Linked DNA regions of Homo sapiens: region 2 is linked to region 1. The links are contacts of gene promoters, found by promoter capture Hi-C in blood cells and fetal thymus (Javierre and others, 2016). All regions are on one chromosome and are shown on one strand. Each heading gives the region's core, a stretch centred on a gene start or on the middle of the fragment in contact. The rest is flanking DNA. Distances are from core to core; before and after follow the strand shown. Region 1 holds the start of OSGEPL1-AS1 (OSGEPL1 antisense RNA 1). Region 2 overlaps LOC124906110 (a long non-coding RNA gene).

Region 1 (3,689 bases), core at 432-2,931:
TTTCCTAGGACTTCAGCTGAGACCATGAAACATAGAAGTGGAGAAAAGAAGGAATGCATTACTGAAGGAAAATCAATAAATACGGAAGCTGGGAATGAGCTCAGTTTCTTTTGGCAACAGGATTAGTTAAGGTTGGGACCTTATTGTGAAGACCCTTAAAAGCCAGGATGAAGTGTTTGAGGTTTTCTATAGCAGTTATTAAAAGTGTTTGCAAAAAGGAATAAGACAGTAGCTCCTGAAAACTTTTATATATGACAAATACAAAAGAATGATTTTACTTTTTCCAAAAAAGTGGAAATGACTAAGATAATGTCTACTTACTTTAAATGAACTTCAGTTTGGGAATGTATTGCTTCTCCCAACACATTTCCAGTTTCATCCACCACAGCAGCTGCTGTATCATCACAACTAGTTTCAATTCCCAATACTATTTTATGAAGAAATAGTGTTCCAGGATGAAAATTAAAACTTCTTAAAAATTCATAAACTTTCCTTTTTGATGGTTTAAAAAAAACTCCTGCAGTCTTAGTCAAGATTAGCATACTTACTCTATAGATAATTCCTGAAAAAGAATTACAGAAACAACTTATTATTTGCAACTGACATTAGCCAGCTTATTTTTCAATATATAGTTTTACAGAATTACAGGAAAGTTTGTAAAAGTCACCAAAAGTTTGTAAAGGCTATAGCAACATGGGAATATAAATAATATTATGAATGAATATAATGTTCTCCAAGGGGGAAAACAGGGGTCAGATATAAAATTTTTTAGTATTATTATTACTTGCATGCTGTTCCTACCAAAAGACTTACTATTAAGACAGCTAATATAAAGTACAATAATTGATAGAGTCCTCTGAAAAGTGCTATTTATTTTTTGACAGCTAAAATTAAGACAAAATGTGGATTTTCTAAAAAGAATCAAACAACAAAGGCAGATGGAACAGATAAAAATACTGTTAATGTATTCCATCTCCTAAAAACATCTTTCAAAATAAAACTGGATCATTTGGTTCAAAAACAAGAGTTAACATAAACACACACACGCCAACTGCAACCTAACACCTATTTTATCCTTAATTGCAATCTTTGGAATTAAATCTCCACTTTTTGCTACAGGTTTTGTCATAACAAGGATCTTCCCAAATCCTTTTCCCCCAAAATAATAGCAGCCCATCACTAAAGCACACTAGTATTTTCACACTGCGAAGCACCTAATTTTATGCCCCCAGATCATCCGTTCTAAAACTTTCTGGGTGTTAAAGCAGGGCCTTTCTCCACCACACTAAAGGGACACGGCATCCCAGGGATTAGAGATGAGCGACCTATTTGCAGAAGGCAGTTGCGGGCAGTGCAGCCCAGACAGACACAACCTAGAGGAATTAGATTTGCATTAACAAAATCTGGACAAGGAGGATTGTACGAAGCACTACCCTTTCGGGCCAAGAAAGCTGCAGGCTGAACCCACGTGACTTGGGTAGCGCTGGTCTCCTGTCGGCTGTAAGGCGGCGACGGGCGCAAACTGGAACCGCTTTTCCAGGTGCGCAAAAGCGTCAGTGGGGTGAAGAGTGAGCAATTTCACCCACCTTCCACTTGGGCGGCAGTAGCTAGCACTTGTCTCCTTTCCCTACTAAAGACTGTCGACTGCCCTTATCGCTGCAGGAGAAAGCCCGAACCTGGCGCCCGGAAGTGATGTCATCGGAACTGTGCAAGGTCCCGTCCAGAGCTGGCTGCTGTTCCGCTAGCGAGCGGCATGCTTAGTGAAGAAAAGCTTAAAGGCCGTCTTTGCCCAAAACGCTCTCTGTGCGCACCTGCATTTCCCCCAGATTTGCAGGTGATGAGAGTTCTGTAAAATTACACAGCTAGTGACTGATCCAGCGGAGGCCGAATACAGGTTTGTCTGACTACACAACATCAAGTTCCAAACACTAAGCTACATTAAAAAGAAATTTTTTTTTTGCCCTTGGCTGGAATTTGGTTGCTACTGTGAGAAAAGGATGGGGTAGATTATTCGTCATTCATTTTTAAGGGAACTATCATCAAATCTAAACTTAGGGGTGAGGTACCTGATACTTTCATCGGAGAAATAGGATGGAATCTAGCGGCGCCCCCTAGCAGGGTTACCAAAGAACGGAAGTGTTTCTCATCGGACAGTGTAAACCGTTTCTCCCACTTCACTAGGAAGAAAGGGGCTGGCTTATTTTTACAATTAAAAAAAAAAAAAATCGGGAGACTGAGGCAGGAGAACTGCTTGAACTGGGACCCGGGAGGCGGAGGTAGCAGTGAGCCGAGATCGCGCCACTGCACTCCAGCCTGAGCTACAGAGCGAGACTCTGTCTCAAAAAAAAAAAAAAAAAAAAAAAAAAGGCTGTGGTAAATATTCAGTTGCCTTAAACCATCCTATTTTCATAATGCATTATGTTGTCCTTCCTTACTATGTACATGAAATTCAGCATGGTATGTTTTCAAAGTCTTGCACCTGCTTTTTTTTTTTTTTTTCTTTTATTGGTTTGTGAACTTTGTTTTGAACATTGGACAGATTTATTCCAAGAGTCAGGCTTTTCCCCTGCTGGTATTTAAGATTTTAGTAAGCAAGGACCTTAGAATCCACTGTTGTACAGGGCTGGCATATATACCTGCACTTTGCACGTTGTGAAGCTCTGGGTATAAAAGATGAGTAAATCCCATAACAACATGTTGGGAAGCCACAGAGTACAGTCTAGAGGTGGATACAGATAAATAAGTAAATAATTACCAGAATATGGTTGAGGTTTTTTATTTGGAACTTATGTTTTTCAAAAATTTCATTTATGTGTAACAATAATGATAAAGTGGCACTATGTACCAGGCACCTGCTGTAGATTAATTTCTTTCAAAATCCCATGAAATAGTTTCTGTCCTCATTTTACAGGCAACTGGGCCACAGAGTTTGGGTGCTTTGGAGGTCACACAACTAGGAAAAGCAAAGCTAGGATTAGAAGTCAGGACATCTGGCACTGGAGTCTGTTTTCTTAACTGCTAGAAGAGAAAATAACTCACATTTTCTCTAGGGTGCACTGTTGGCCTAAACAAGGGAAAAAAGAAAAATTAAAACCTAAAAGTTAAGAAAAATTAGTCATACGGTTAGAGAGGTCAGAGCTTATTTCTGTTATACACTGGAATCCAGTTTGAACATAAAACCTTTCACATCAGGTATTATTTTTCTTACAATTCCAATTATGTTCAGCAAGTATATCCCAATGCTCTTCTGTGCTGTCAAGACAAGCAAGATCCTATTGTGTGTGCTATCATTGGTAGATTCCTCGTCTAGGCACTCTTGGCCAGTGTTGAGTCCGAATGCTGTTATTATGTGAAACAGGAGAACTCTAGGGCACATTAGTATGGAATTTTATCTTTCCCTTGACCGAATATATGTAAAGTGGCACTTATACAAGTCCCATGTATTTAGCAAAGATATACATTTTTTATGTTCTCTATTGTAACATAGGAGAGGGTTATTGGGGGAAAGGCATGTATGCTCTCTGAGGCCTGTCTGTACTTTTATGCAGATAGTTAGAATGCCACTCATGGGCATTCTCAAAAAATATGGCCTATGTAAGTTCAACATAAATCGAGAGTTCCAGCTGAATCTAGATATGCTTATTTGGTCTCAGATATTGTGTGTCTAGCTTTCCATTTGTAGCCTTCAG
Region 2 (3,689 bases), core at 1,081-3,580, 1.1 Mb after region 1:
TATGATGTCACAATGAACAGAGGTATACTTTCATTTACATAGATGGCAAATGATATATTTTTAGATTTAATTGCTATATGTTAAGGTATTTGTATATGACATGTATATTCAAGGACTGCTTTCTTAGCGATTCTTCCTTCTCTGGAATTTTTTTTTTTTTTTAGCTATTTGTGAATAGCTGTTACTTTGGGCACTGAGCCCAGCTTTTCTTAATCTGACTGTCTTTATCTTTTTCTATTTTAAGATACTTTGAAAATTATTGGTTTATTTTCTAAAAATGAAGTAAGTAAATTATCTCTAGGTTCCCCTTAAATGGTATTTTATTATTAGATGGTTTAAAACAATTGTTTGGCTTTTCAACAATAAGTGTAAAAACTGATCACATTGCATGTCAAAATTTATTCACCTATGGTTTGATAATAACAGCTATAACACTTACAGAGTGCTACTGTCATTATTCTGGGTGCTTTATATGTGTTGTTTATTTATTCCACACAACAACCCTATAAGTACCAATATTATCCGCCCCCCTTTGTTTTTTTGAGATGGAGTCTTGCTCTCTCATAGCCCAGGCTGGAGTGCAATGGCTAGATCTCGGCTCACTGCAACCTCTGCCTCCCAGGTTCAAGCAATTCTCCTGCCTCAGCCTCCCGAGTAGCTGGGATTACAGGCATGCACCACCATGCCTGGCTAATTTTTTGAATTTCTAGTAGAGATGGGGTTTCACCATGTTGGCCAGGCTGGTCTTGAACTCCTGACCTCAGGTGATCCACCTGCTTCGGCCTCCCAAAGTGCTGGGATTACAGGCGTGAGCCACCTTGCCTGGCCATATTATCCCCTTTTTATAGATGAGGGATTTACCATACTTACTTTGGTACACATCTATATTCAGTATTGGAAAAATAAGCCATGTTTGGCAGGGCTTATCAGTGAGGCTAGGAATTTGGCCAGTTAAAGCAGGAAACCAACAGAAGAAAGGGAAGTAGTAGCAGAAGCTTGTTTAGAGGCTTCCTGAACCTTACTCTATTCTCCAAACAGAAGAATTTCAAAAAAAGGCTTAGGCAATTCTTTTAAGCTGTTAGTCAAAGGAAAATTACTTTCTTTTTAGTTCTAGGTCAACAAATAATCTACTAGTTTTTGTGAAGGCGCAATCTGGAATTTCTATATATATATATTATTTTATCTTATTTTATTTTATTTTTTGAGATGTAGTATCGCTCTGTTGCCAGGCTGGAGTGCAGTGGTGCGATCTTGGCTCACTGTAACCTCGGCCTCCCAGGTTTGAGTGATTCTCCTGCCTCAGCCTCCCAAGTAGCTGGGATTACAGGTGTGTGCCACCACGCCCAGCTAATCGTTGTATTTTTAGTAGAGATGGGGTTTAACCGTGTTAGCCAGGATGGTCTCAATCTCCTGACCTTGTGATCTGCTCGCCTCAGCCTCCCAAAGTGCTGGGATTACAGGTGTGAGTCCACCGCGCCCGGCCTATATATGGATTTTATTATGATCTTGAAACATTAGCCTTTTGTAATCTTCGACAGAACAAAGAAGCTCAGGAACATAGAAGCACAGGAACCTTTCTTCAAGTTAGAACAGACACAAAGTGCACAAATTCCAATTATTCCTTTTGATGGCTGATTACCTGATGATGGCTATGGGACAGCAACTCTTTGTAGTGTAGCTGCACTTAGGAGCAAAAAGGAAGTCGAAGAGTAGATCTGACAACCCAACCATAGTTAATGTGGAGAGCATTTTTCTATTTGTAGATATTTTGGTGGACTACTTATTGTATGTATACAAATGTTTTTATACTTTTTACATGATGATTACATGAGTTTATGTAATGATATAATTCAATTTAACATAACTGAAACTTCAAAGTTGTGTAATGGTTACAAAGTTGTAGATAAAAATATCTTTAAAGATTAAAAAATTATATAAGATGAAGAAAAGAATCAAATGAAAGTATTGAGTCACATTTTTATTCTATTTATAATAGTTTCTTTGCTGTCTATAACCTTTTCATTAGCCTTCTCAAACAAGGGGTTAAATTTCAGTGGACTCAATTCTTCCAAATTTTGGGAGTAATATCTATCCATTCTCACCAAAAGCAGAAAGTCTGGAAACTACCAGAAAATAAAACTCTAGAAACTAGAAACTCTAGAAAATAATCTGTTACTAGGTTAGCTTTCTTATTTGTTAAGTGAACTATAAAGCCTTTAAACCTTTAAATATCTAAAACAATTTTCATAAGAAACTCAGAGAAATTAAGGGAGAAACTGAGAGGAAAACAGTAACTGGATTGTCAGTTGCTTTGTGTTGTTGAGAAAAAAGAGGCAGTTAAAATTGATAACTAATTGCAGCTAATATATTGGACAATATTAAAGTCTGCAAGTCATTAACAAGTCAGGGTTAGGCAGGGGTAATATTTGTTACCTTTCCTCTGAAACTTGATGTCTCTATTCCTGAATATATCATTACTTTGATTCATCAACATTTTTGGACAAGTAACATTAGTAATAAAAGCTATCTAAGTACTTTCCCATTGTCCTGCTTTTTTTTTTTTAAATAAAAAAGGTGACTATGTTTTACACATGATAGTTTTTTCCATGTTCTTCTGGTTAAAGAGCAGATAGAAAAAAAAAACTTAAAACACGGCAAGGCTGTAACATGCCAAAGGTCACATAACCTGTAGGTACAGCCAGATTTCCTAATTATTAATCTATTGAAATATTTTACAGTTCACTAGATTACTAAATCCGGTTATCAATTAATGATGCACCTGACATACACCCTTCTAGTTTCATAAAAATCACCTCATTAGGCCGGGCGTGGTGGCTCACGCCTGTAATCCCAGCAATTTGGGAGGCCCAGGGGGTGCAGATCCCTCGAAACCAGCCTGGGCAACCTGGCGAAACCCCGTCTCTACCAAAAATACAAAAAAAAAAAAAAAAAAAAGCAGGTGCTGGCTGAGGTGGGAGGATCACCGGGGCCCCTGAGTTCAAGGCTGCAGTAAGCCGTGATCGCGCCACTGCACTTCAGCCTGGGCGACAGAGTGAGACCCTTTCTCAAAACGAACACACACAACAACACAGTAACAACACACCAACCCCCAAAACATCTTATTAAACTCTGTGGATCTACTCCATTTAAACCTAATTGTTTCAGGAAATAGTCTAAAAACATTTTTTTGTCCTGGAATGTAATGTGTATGTAGCCTCAGGGAATAACTCAGTTTATCAGGTTCTTGGCTGTTTTTCCACAGGTCCAAAAGGATAAATGGATAAAGTGATGCTGAAATAACTTAGAGAACCCGTATTCCAACGCTTCTATTTTAAAACAGTGAAGCAGTTTTTAAAATAGAAAAGTATCTACAGTTTTGCTTTCAAGCAAATAGCGTTAACGGAATCATTGCTATTCAAAACTATTTTTGAAGTATCGGTGTACATTTAAAAAAAATAATTTTTAAAAAAGAAAGCTGTCGTATTCTGGATTCCGCAACCCCCCCACCCCGCCTCGCCACTCGTCGCCCTCCCTCCACCTCCACCCTCCCATGGCTTAAGTCGCATAGCTGAAAGGATTTTGCTCATTTTTTCCAAAACACTTCACGTCTGGGTAGTAGCCAATCATGGAAAGTTTCAAGCAAATGTTACATTTGGGAGAGGGATGAAGCTTGTCCGGGGCTGCTCTCG

The links. The method cuts DNA at HindIII sites, captures the fragments that hold promoters and counts their contacts. A CHiCAGO score of 5 or more calls a contact.
Region 2: a fragment that was not itself captured here is called in contact with the fragment with the promoter of OSGEPL1-AS1 in region 1 in 1 of 17 cell types (total B cells); the score reaches 7.2 in total B cells.

What each region holds. Positions count from the first base shown.
Region 1 is chr2:189,761,099-189,764,787 of GRCh38, forward strand. OSGEPL1-AS1 (OSGEPL1 antisense RNA 1) reads left to right here and starts at 1,682. Exons shown (of 2, transcript NR_102429.1): 1 at 1,682-1,894. It overlaps OSGEPL1 (O-sialoglycoprotein endopeptidase like 1), which reads right to left and starts at 1,694. Exons shown (of 9, transcript NM_022353.3): 1 at 1,587-1,694; 2 at 322-562. The coding sequence starts at 542. It also overlaps a transcript of ANKAR not described here and a transcript of ORMDL1 not described here. RefSeq lists enhancers at 1,177-1,336, 1,623-2,369. The HindIII fragment of the contact is 3,776 bases long and covers 1-1,769 here.
Region 2 is chr2:190,876,644-190,880,332 of GRCh38, forward strand. It overlaps LOC124906110 (a long non-coding RNA gene), which reads right to left. Exons shown (of 2, transcript XR_007087791.1): 2 at 1-3,689. Among named protein-coding and RNA genes, the nearest start is that of GLS, 2.3 kb to the right of the region's middle. RefSeq lists an enhancer at 3,566-3,689. The HindIII fragment of the contact is 2,674 bases long and covers 994-3,667 here.